Linked DNA regions of Homo sapiens: regions 1, 3 and 4 are each linked to region 2. Evidence: promoter capture Hi-C in human tissues and cell types (Jung and others, 2019). All regions are on one chromosome and are shown on one strand. The core of a region is centred on a gene start or on the middle of the fragment in contact, and the rest is flanking DNA. Distances in the headings are between cores, read along the strand shown. Region 1 has its middle 5.1 kb from the start of DEFB128. Region 2 holds the start of DEFB127 (defensin beta 127). Region 3 overlaps DEFB125 (defensin beta 125). Region 4 has its middle 22 kb from the start of DEFB126.

The links. Contacts are between HindIII fragments. The study calls those that stand out against the background at their distance.
Region 1: a fragment that was not itself captured here is called in contact with the fragment with the promoter of DEFB127 in region 2 in 6 of the 25 tissues and cell types used here (dorsolateral prefrontal cortex, mesenchymal stem cells, mesendoderm cells and 3 more).
Region 3: a fragment that was not itself captured here is called in contact with the fragment with the promoter of DEFB127 in region 2 in 1 of the 25 tissues and cell types used here (mesendoderm cells).
Region 4: a contact is called between a fragment that was not itself captured here and the fragment with the promoter of DEFB127 in region 2, in 5 of the 25 tissues and cell types used here (H1 embryonic stem cells, dorsolateral prefrontal cortex, mesenchymal stem cells and 2 more).

The regions. Positions count from the first base shown.
Region 1 is chr20:193,488-196,187 of GRCh38, reverse strand. No RefSeq gene overlaps it. Among named protein-coding and RNA genes, the nearest start is that of DEFB128, 5.1 kb to the right of the region's middle. The HindIII fragment of the contact is 6,858 bases long and covers 1-2,700 here.
Region 2 is chr20:156,202-158,901 of GRCh38, reverse strand. DEFB127 (defensin beta 127) reads right to left here and starts at 1,448. Exons shown (of 2, transcript NM_139074.4): 1 at 1,309-1,448; 2 at 1-128. The coding sequence starts at 1,357. The HindIII fragment of the contact is 9,888 bases long and covers 1,078-2,700 here.
Region 3 is chr20:94,913-97,612 of GRCh38, reverse strand. DEFB125 (defensin beta 125) reads right to left here. Exons shown (of 2, transcript NM_153325.4): 2 at 519-1,608. The coding sequence ends at 1,196. Among named protein-coding and RNA genes, the nearest start is that of DEFB125, 8.6 kb to the right of the region's middle. The HindIII fragment of the contact is 8,020 bases long and covers 1-2,700 here.
Region 4 is chr20:119,453-122,152 of GRCh38, reverse strand. No RefSeq gene overlaps it. Among named protein-coding and RNA genes, the nearest start is that of DEFB126, 22 kb to the left of the region's middle. The HindIII fragment of the contact is 9,240 bases long and covers 1-2,700 here.

The DNA.
Region 1 (2,700 bases), core at 167-2,666, 37 kb before region 2:
TCAATGGTACACTGGATAAATAAAATATGGTACATATACACCATCGAATACTACACAGCCATAAAAAATGAAATCATGTTTTTTGCAGGGACATGGATGGAGCTGGAGGCCTGTATCCCAAGTGAGTTAACACAGGAACAGAAAACCAAATACCACGTGTTCTCACTTATAATGGGAGCTAAACATTGAGTCCACCTGGACACAAAAAAGGAAACAAACACCGGGGCCTACTTGAGGTAGGAGGAGGGTGGGAATCAACAAACTACCTATCAGGTACTATGCTTATTACCTGGGTGATGAAATAACCTGTACACCAAATCCCTGTGACATACAATTTACCTATGTGACTAACCTGCACATGTTCTCCTGAACCTAAAATAAAAGCTAAAAAAATTCATACACAGACACACACACACACACACACACACACACACACACACACGAATGGGATTAGTGTTACAAATACAAATGGAAAGAGCTGTGGGGGTTCAAAATAGTAATTAATCAAGTCTATCAGAGGAGTTAGGAAGACATCACAGAGGAGGTCTTATTTTTATCTGAGCCTTAAAAGACAAGAAGGATTTTCTGGGAGGTTTTGAGATTTGGAAAGAAACAATGCAGAATTTGAGGAAAAACATCAGCAGGACTGGTGCTGACAAATACACCTTTGTATCCTGGGTGAAATATGCTACTGGAGTTCTGCTAGAGTGTATCTATCAGACGTAGGAAAAAATGTTGTAGAAGATGGACATCTACTTGGAGAGGAAATTCCCTCTTATTTGATGGTCTTGAACATGGAGGCAGTGGGAGTGGGGTTGAGAAGCTTCCAGAGCACCATACTTGGCTGAAGTAAAGGTTTAGAACAGTCAAATATCTCATCTTTCTTGATTCTAGTTAGAAAAAGCTAAAAGAAATCCCATACACTAATCTGGAGTCCAACTTCTTAGTTCTTATTGTGCACTAAGGTGGCAAACGATTTCCTGCATAGCTGGACTTATATTCATCTAATCCTTGGGTTATCTCTGTTTAATTTATTTAGAAATGGAACCAACTCCCTTACAGCAATGAGTAAAATTGAATTACAGAACAAGGGAGCAGTTGGCTGTCCTCCAAAATTGTAGCTTTGATGGTGGTCTTTAAACCCACAGGTGATTCAGTTAGCACTTTTCTTCTTGTATTTATTAACAGGAACTTAATACCTGTTTTTTGAATAAGTATTTCCTTGATCCACAGACCCTCAGCAAGAAAGACTTAGAAAATTAAAACAAAAACAAAAACAAAAAAACAAGCCAGGCGTGGTGGCTCATGCCTGTAATCCCAGCACTTTGGGAGGTTGAGGTGGGTGGATCTCCTGAGGTCAGGAGTTCAAGACCAGACTGGCCAACGTGGTGAAACCCCATCTCTACTAAAAATACAAAAATTAGCTGGGCATGATGGTGCACGCCTGTAATCCCAGCCACTGCACCTAGCCCTTAATAAATATTCACACATCTGATCTTCGTGCGGCTAAATTTCCTGCACCCATTAACTTAGCTGTCTTCATATGATAAATATGATTTGATGAGATTCTGTAAGCCTCACCAATCTTTATTTTCTGTGCCACTCCAGGATTACAAGGTATACAGCTACTAACTGAGGGGGATAAGGGCTCTGGTTACTGGTATCCATAGTAAGCTATATACAATACTAATTCCTAACCTTACTCTTTCCCTGACTATGTTGTGATAAGAGTTTAATCATCAACGGCTACTTCTACAGCTTTCAGAAATTCCAACATTCTTCCAGATACTGTCACAGAAAGATATTTGGATTAGATGGGACCTCATTACTATAATTAGGTGCCTAGAAATTGCAAAAAGTGGTAAACAGCATTTTTAAAGGAAATGCCATAATTAACTTTATTGCTGTGTTGGAGTATTTTATCTAGCAGTAATTTGTTCAGTACTTTTCAGCCATTCAGTGATTATGTATTGAGCATATAGCATGAATTTTGTGCTATGAGTTAAGAACTCCTAGTCGAGGAGGCTTTGGAAAAGGGAAAAACTGGGCAAATCGAATGCCTAATAGGGCTTGCTTCCAGTGCGGTCTACAAGGACACTTTAAAAAAGATTGTCCAAGTAGAAATAAGCCACCCTCTCATCCATGCCCCTTATGTCAAGGGAATCACTGGAAGGCCCACTGCCCCAGGGGACGAAGGTCCTCTGAGTCAGAAGCCACTAACCAGATGATCCAGCAGAAGGACTGAGGGTGCCCAGGGCAAGCTCCAGCCCATGCCATCACCCTCACAGAGTCCCGGGTATGCTTGACCATTGAGAGCCAGGAGGCTAACTGTCTCCTGGACACTGGCGCAGCCTTCTCAGTCTTACTGTCCTGTCCCGGACAACTGTCCTCCAGATCTGTCACTATCCAAGGGGTCCTAGGACAGCCAGTCACTAGATACTTCTCCCAGCCACTAAGTTGTGACTGGGGAACTTTATACTTTTCACATGCTTTTCTAATTATGCCTGAAAGCCCCACTCCCTTGTTAGGGAGAGACATTCTAGCGAAAGCAGGGGCCATTATACACCTGAACATAGGAGAAAGAACACCCGTTTATTGTCCCCCTGCTTGAGGAAGGAATTAATCCTGAAGTCTGGGCAACAGAAGGACAACATGGACGAGCAAAGAATGCCCATTCTGTTTGAGTTAAACTAAAGGATT
Region 2 (2,700 bases), core at 199-2,698:
TTCCTTGATATTGAGGCAACAGTATCTCCCATTTTCACATAGTGCCTCAGGCACTTCATTTACTCTGCAGATTTTCCTGCAATGTCCTTGTACATAGTTATTCCAGCACTTCTTAAGTTGTTCGGTTACTATACACAGAAAGGAGCAATAGAACAATATCAGTGTTTGAGACTGAAGGCACGTTGGTTTTGGGGAAGACAGAGGAGGCTTGTAGGAATTAGGGGTATGGGGTATCCACAAGGCAGACCCTCATATATTCTGAAGAGGATTTTCCGACAAGGTCAACCTCAGTGTTTGTATTTAACTGGATCACTTATATTTAGGTCCTGTGAGGTTTTAGGCCTCCCTTAACATCTGATAGACTCTGCCAAGAACATAAGATCTTATCTGAGAAAATAAAGGAGCTGAACCCTTGATTCTAGGCTATGGAACTATGCTCTACATAGGAACCTCAGCAAATCTGCCTGCATCCTGAATGCTCCCAGAGCACTACCTTCTACTGCACCTCCTCTGATGCCCAGAGAACAATGTATTGTTACTATGTGTTTATGTCTGAATCAAACTGTTCTCCTGAGTTCAAACCCACTATCAGGGTCAAGAATGACTTTCATGTTATCCAGTAAGGTAGTAGTCTATTGGGTCTTAGGAATGTAGAGGGTCAGGAATAGGCCATTACTATTCTTATAATAAGGGACACATGTAAGAAATCTGGTTTTGAAAGAGGAAAGGAAACTCTAATTTTTGAGTTCTCAGTATGTGCCAAGCTTCACATAGGTTATATCATTTAATAAAACCCCTGTTAACCAGGTGTCATTATCTCCATAGATGAGGAAACTGAGGCTCCTAGAGTCTTCACTACTTAAAGTTGACAAACTAGTAGATATTGAAGGCATGTTTCTTAAACCTAACTCCAAAATTTGCTTCTTCCTCTATTCATGCACACACACACACACACACACACACACACACATATATATATTTGAGTAAAAGGAAATATAGCTGAGCATCAGAGTAAAAACCATATCCAAAGACATAAAGGTATCCCTAGATATTGGCATCATTCCTTTCTATAACAACACATCTTTCCCAGAAGAAATTATGACCTCTTTTTAGCTCAGTGAGTACTCCTCTTTAAGGATAGTAACATGGAATAAGGCTCCAGAAAGAGGAAATTTCTGATGATGTTGGATAAACTTTAGCCATCTTTGGGGGCTCTATTTCCCTTTAGTGTGGATTATGAAGTTCCCTTTGGCTCCTGAAAATGCTCCATCCCACTGTTGATTTGAGTGAGCTTCTGGTTTGGTTTACCTGTGGGTTTCTGGAACAGCAGAATTGCAATGATCATGAAGAGCCCCATGGCCAGGCTTTCCAGAAGAGGTGCAGCCAAAGCTTTTGGTCCAGTGAACTGCACACTATGCTACCTTCCTCAGAGACTTAGATTCTTATGCACTGAACCAGAACAGATGGGATGATATGAAGTGTGTCCTTAAGCTTCTGAACTGTGAGCTTTGCATCATGCAGGCAGACACAGGAAATTTCAGGCCACCCACTTTACCCCCACATGGAATAGAGATACAGCATGTTCCATCCCATCGCACCAAATGCCGCTGTGTAGGCTGTAGACTGCTGGGAAGAATCTGTGATTTTCCTGCTTTGACTCTCTGCGCAGCCGGACCAAGATCGAAATGTACTCACCTCCAAGAATGAATGTGGCAGTATAAACCAGGACATAAATCTGAAACTCTAACAATAAGAATTTCTAGTAGGTTTCTTGCACATTTCGAAAGAAGGTATGATGTAGTTGGGTCTGATCTGAGGTCACCTGATTTTTTATAAAAGCACCAAGAACATACACTGGGGAAAGGATACCCTCTTCAATAAATCATGCTGGAGAAACTGGATTTCCATGTGCAGAAGAATATATATTATGTATATATATATGTACACACATATATACATATATATGCACACAATGGAATACTATACATACATAACACACAATGGAATATATATATATATATATACACACACACACACAATGGAATACTATTCACCCATAAAAATAATGAAATTCTGTCCTTTGCAACAACATGGATAGCCTGGAGGACATTATGTTATGTGAAATGTCAGGCACAGAAAGATTACCACATGTTCCTATTTATATATGGGAGCTAAAAAAGTTGAGCACATGGAAGTAGAGAGTAGTGTTGCAGATATTAATATTAGAGGCTGGTAATGATTAGGGAGAGGGGAGGATGGAGAGAGATTGGCTAATGGATGCAAAATTATAGATAGGAGGAATGACTTCTGGTGTTGTAGCACTGTAAGGTGAATATGGTTAACTACAATTTATTGTATACTTTTAAAAGGCTAGAAGAGAGGATTTTGAATGTTCCCAATACAAATGATAAATGTTTGAGGTGACGGATATGCTAATTACCCTGGTTTGATCATTACACATTATATGCATGTATTGAAATATCACTTTGTATCCTATAAATAAGTACAATTATGTGTCAACTAAAAATAAAAGGAAAAATGGCTAAAATGGCCAATGTTATGTCATATATTTTACCACAATTAGAAGAAAAAGATGCATGAGGGTATTTTTTTTCTACCAGTTGTACCTTGTCTTTGAAAATATTAAAATGTTGCCACAAGGAATCGATGTTTACCTAGATCATTCTTTGATCATTGATT
Region 3 (2,700 bases), core at 33-2,532, 61 kb after region 2:
CACAGTAGCTCACACCTGTAATCCCAGCATTTTGGGAGGCCAAGGCGGATGGATCATGAGGTTAGGAGATCGAGACCATCCTGGCTAACATGGTGAAACCCCTCTCTACTAAAAATACAAAAAATTAGCCAGGTGTGGTAGTGGGTGCCTGTAGTCCCAGTTACTCGGGAGCCTGAGGCAGGAGAATGGCGTTAACCCAGGAGGCAGAGCTTGCAGTGAGCCGAGATCATGCCACTGCACTCCAGCTTGGGCGACAGAGCTAGACTCTGTCTCAAAAAAAAAAAAAAACCTAATCAACTTTATAGTTAATAACCGCTTCTCTGTAGTATCATAGAAGACACTTACTGACCCACCTGTTGCCATACAAACAGCAGTCACATGCGTACAGCCATACAAAGCATAGAAACACTGCACACAACTAACATTCATGGACAACACAGAGACCTGAAGAGGCATGTTATGAGGCTGCCATACTTGGAAGTTGGAATTCTAAGTGGAAAGAAGATTGGAAAGATAAGTAGAATTTGAGATGCAGCTTTTAATTTAATATGATGTACTCTCAAGGCAAGTCCCACTTTTATCTCTATCCAGTTAGATCAGTGCTTGTGTTGAATGAAAGAATTAGCTTCTGACTCTGTTAGTTACCAGCTAGAACCTTAAACAAAATTTGACGTCATGACACAGAAAAGTATTTAGGGTCAGAACTTACAATAAAAGGTGGAGGGTAGAGAAGGGAACATTCATCTGGAACTTTCTATATGCTTTTATATGTTCTCCTATATACGATAGTAGTGGGCCAGGCACTGTTAAAGTAAAAATTCTTGTCTTAGTCATAAGAGGCAGCTCCAAACAATGGTCTTCGTTTTTGTTTTTGGCATGGAAAAATACATAGATATACAAATGTTCACTTAAGACAAAAATTAGCTCATATATTTGAGTACATCGGAGGAAGACAGATAAAGAATTTAAGTCCAATTAAGAGAATCCTTGTATCTTCTATACATTTCTGTCTACACATTTCTAATTGTAAGGCAACTCTCTTGGCTGTTGTGTTGGTAGTAGCAATTATGTCCATCCCCATGGTCATCCAATCCCTGATGGAATTTTCCTGGTGAAATTGGATTGGTAGAATCAGCTCTTTGGATATTATTTCCAGCAGTATTTCTAGTTGTTCCATACCAGAAGTAAATGTTAATTAATTATGAGTAAGAGCTGTCTGAGAAGGTGGTGGCATAGTCTCGGAAGTAGCAGTCTCAGATGGTGGCATAGTAGTCTCGGGAGTAGTGGCCTCAGATGGTGGCATAGTAGTCTCAGGAGTATTGGTCTCAGGTGTCATGGTTTCTCCAAATTTAGTTGTGTCAAATGTTATCAGATCATTCAACATAGATACTGGGGAACCAGTAAAAGAGTCCACATCACTATAATCCAATGTTATATCCTCTAGGTGAATCACAGGAAATGCTGGTCGTCGAGTATATTCATGTGATATTATAGAAATGCAGCATGATAGCTTGTTCCTACAAAGAAGTATGTACCTTTCAGTATCTAAACATCGTCTTCTGCAATGTCCTACATTATTCTTCCAACATTTTTGGGGTTCAAAGCTACCTGTAGAGAATAAAATATAGGTCAAATTTTTAACTCTGGCATCAACATAACAACTTTTCATTCATTCAAAAATTTACACTGACTGACATCTAGACTAATATGATGTCAAATACAAAAAGCCATTGTAAGAGACAAACAGGAGAACAAAAAGTGTATATTAAAATTGTGCTATGTGCCATCAAAGAAGTTGTATGGAGAAAAGGAGAAATGTAGAAAAAGAGAGGGACGGAGAGAGAGAGAGCATACTGAGACTGATACGAAACCTAGAAAGAAAGGATGAAAATGAAAAGCCCAGGACCAGATGGATTCACAGCTGAATTCTACCAGATATACAAAGAAGAGCTGGTATCATTCCTACTGAAACTATTCACCCAAAATTGAGAAGGCAGGACTCCGCTTTAACTTATTCTATGAGGCCAGCATCATCCTGAGACCAAAACCTAGCAGAGACACAAGAAAAAAAAAATTTCAGGCCAGTATCCTTGATGAACATCAGTGCAAAAATCCTGAACAAAATAGTAGCAAACTGAATCCAGCAGCACATCAAAAAGCTTATCCACTACGATCAAGTAGCCTTTATCCTTGGAATGCAAGGTTGGTTCGACATATGCAAATCAATAAATGTGATTGCTTATGGATAGCATTTAAAGTACAGAAATTGGTAAACCATGGTGGGTTGGAATAATATGAGAAAAAAAGAGGACTAGAATTAAATTCTAGTGAGTTTCAATATTAAGAGATAAGAGATCAGATAAGAGGAAACGACTTAAAAGGACCAATAAGATAAGTCAGATCAAAACAGGAGAATAAGACTCTAGAGTCTTAAAGCAGACCCCCAGCAGAGCAGAGCTCCAGCAAAGATTTGAATATAATAGTTTAGTTGAGAGACAATTCCTCCTTAAAAAAAATCAGTGGAGAAATGTAGAAATCAGGAAAGCAAGAAATCCAAGAAAAGGTGAGTTATAACCTGTTATTATCATGAGATCATCTATCAACTGCTGGCCAGCAGGATGGCTGTGTTCTGTTTGCTCAGAGGACAATCCCACAGGGAAGCCCAGCAGCCAGGCTACAAATAAGCCTCAGACTCATGGA
Region 4 (2,700 bases), core at 184-2,683, 37 kb after region 2:
TTATATAACAGCTTCACCATGCTAGTCACCCTCTACTCTTCTGTTCACATACTGTTATCCAGTGTTTTTGCTTCATTGTTATAGATGGCAGCATTACCTCCAGCATTATGACCATATTCCAAACAGGAGGAAGTGGAAGGCCAAAGTCAAGTGGGTGTCTACCACTTGAATATTTGGATCACTCCACCCCTCCCTTTAGTAATTTTTCCCAGAGACCCCACCAAAAACACATATCCTGTTTAAATATCATTGCCAACAATTGTGTCACATTCCACAACTGTGCGTTTAGGAAGTTTGGAATAGTGGCTTACGTGAGCATACTGTTGAACCCAAACCATCATTCTGACACAATATAGTGTAATAAGGAGCAAATAAACAGAAATGCCAAGAGCACGTTCATGCCTCAGCAGATTGCATGTGGCACACTCAGTTCTCCAAGAAAGGTGGCACATCTTGCAGGGCCAAACTAATGATCCCTTTCTTGGAACATGAAGATCTGATTGTGCTGGCAGCCTGCAGGCATATCCCATGATTTGTGGAACATCATAGATATTTAGGAGAGAAACTTCATGTTCGTGCCAACATCCATTAGATGAGTAGGCTAAAGAAGTGAAGGATAGAAGAACTTTGTTGACTGGTGATAAACGCCACTACTGCTGATTTAAGTCAGCTGAAGAATTTTGACAGCTGAAGAATTTTGACAGCTGAAGAATATCAACCTATATCCCCTGGAGCATACAGGGGCTGCTTAATAACTCTGCCATCCTAGGACACAATATATTAATAGTTTAATTCTAAATGGATTAAATATACAGGCAGGACACACTGTTAATGTTAATGAGAAAGTATTCAGAGTTAATAATATTTTCATGCAAGCTACTTATTGCTCTGATCATTCCCCTGGTCCCTGTTCCAACAAGGCTTTTTTGTTGCTGTTATTTAGCTTTGTTTTAGTAAATAATTGACACAAATAGGCTAACTCCCTTCAAAAGTGTACAATCTGAGTATAACTATTTTAGTGTTTATGTAAAGATACTGTAAGATAAATGGAAGAAGTATGTGTGATAAAGAGAAGATGATCAAATAGTGCTCCTGTAAAATAATGCCATGAAATAGAATATTAAATTACTTATTATTTAATAGTATTATGCTGCTACATTTGTGTAATTTAGACTTCAGCTTTTTTTTTTTTTTACTACAATAGATGAGGGTGTATTGTAACTATATTTTGTCTCTGGAACATTCATTCTTCCTTCTATAATGTGAACTGGTTGCTTCCTATGTAGGCTATACAGATGTCATCTTAGAATTTTGTTTTACTAGTCACCTGAGTTGGCACAGATATACCTGGAAATTGTGTTTTCTTTTTTTTTAGTTACTTTCTTTTTCTGCCTAGGCGATAACTTCTAAAGAAAGACTATGAGAAGTAAACTTCAGTATTATGCATTCCAGCAAACATGTCTTTTCTATCTTCACAGTTCAAGCATTTTAAAACAAAAGCTGTGGACAAGTTTGCACACATAAAATGGCTCAGTATATATGTAAAATATGAATAAACAATCTAGGCTGGCTATCTATTTGAGAAAATCTTTAACATGACTGAAAATAAATGAAGAAAGGCACATTAGAATAACTATTATTTAGGGGCTGGAGTTTCAAGAGTGTATTCCATCCATAAAGCAATAATATCATGCTATGTAAGGAGAAGTAGTAAACTTTTGGAAATTAGAAAAATGATTGTTTAGCAGGCACATTTGAAGATAAAGTGAGAAAATCTTTGAAGTCTAAAAACAAGTGGAAAGTATGAGCAAAATATATAAGACACAGAGTGTCAATCCAGGAGAGCCAATATCTGATTAATAAGATTTTCAAAGAGAAGGAGAAAGAAAATTAAAGAAAAAGAATTACAAAAAGCTACATAAATTTGAAAAGATAATAAATCTTCTTTTTTTTCAGAAATAATCTAAGAAATACTATTCTAGAAAATAAATAAGAATTGTCATCTAGATAAAATGACAAAGAGAAAAGTGGGAAACAGTCAGAGGGAAAAACAGAAACCATACTTTTGATAGAGTAATTGTTACACTGACAGGTGATTTTTCACCACAAACAATAGAAGCCATAATCCAATGGACTGAGCTCTTCAACGTATTTTTCAAAGTAAATGTCATCCTAGAAATCCATATCCACAAAAATATTTTAAGAAGAAAATATAAATACAACCTTTTCAGATAGAGATAGCAGATCTCATGAAAGGAAATTCTAAAGGATGTTCTTTAGTTTAAAAAAATGACCACACATGGAAAGTATGTGATGAAGAAGCAACAAAAAAAGGGATAAAAGTGGATTAAACTGGCAGAATTAAATAAAGATGTTTTATAAGATTAAAAACATAATTAAATATCAAAATTCTGAAAATAGAATCAATTGGGAGCGTTAAATAGAATTAAAGTGGTCTATGTTCCATATATTATTCAGAGATTGGTAAATTTATGGATTAACTCTAGTTGCTAGACTGGATGAAAAATTAGATGCTATTTACAACAGATAAATGTAAAAACAAGATACGGAGAAGATTGAAAGTGGAAATATGGGAAAAAAACTTAACATGCAAATACCAACAAAAGGAAGTTATCTTACTTCTTAGTATTGAACAAAATAGTATTTAAGGCAAAAATTATCTTAGAGGAAAATGGGTTA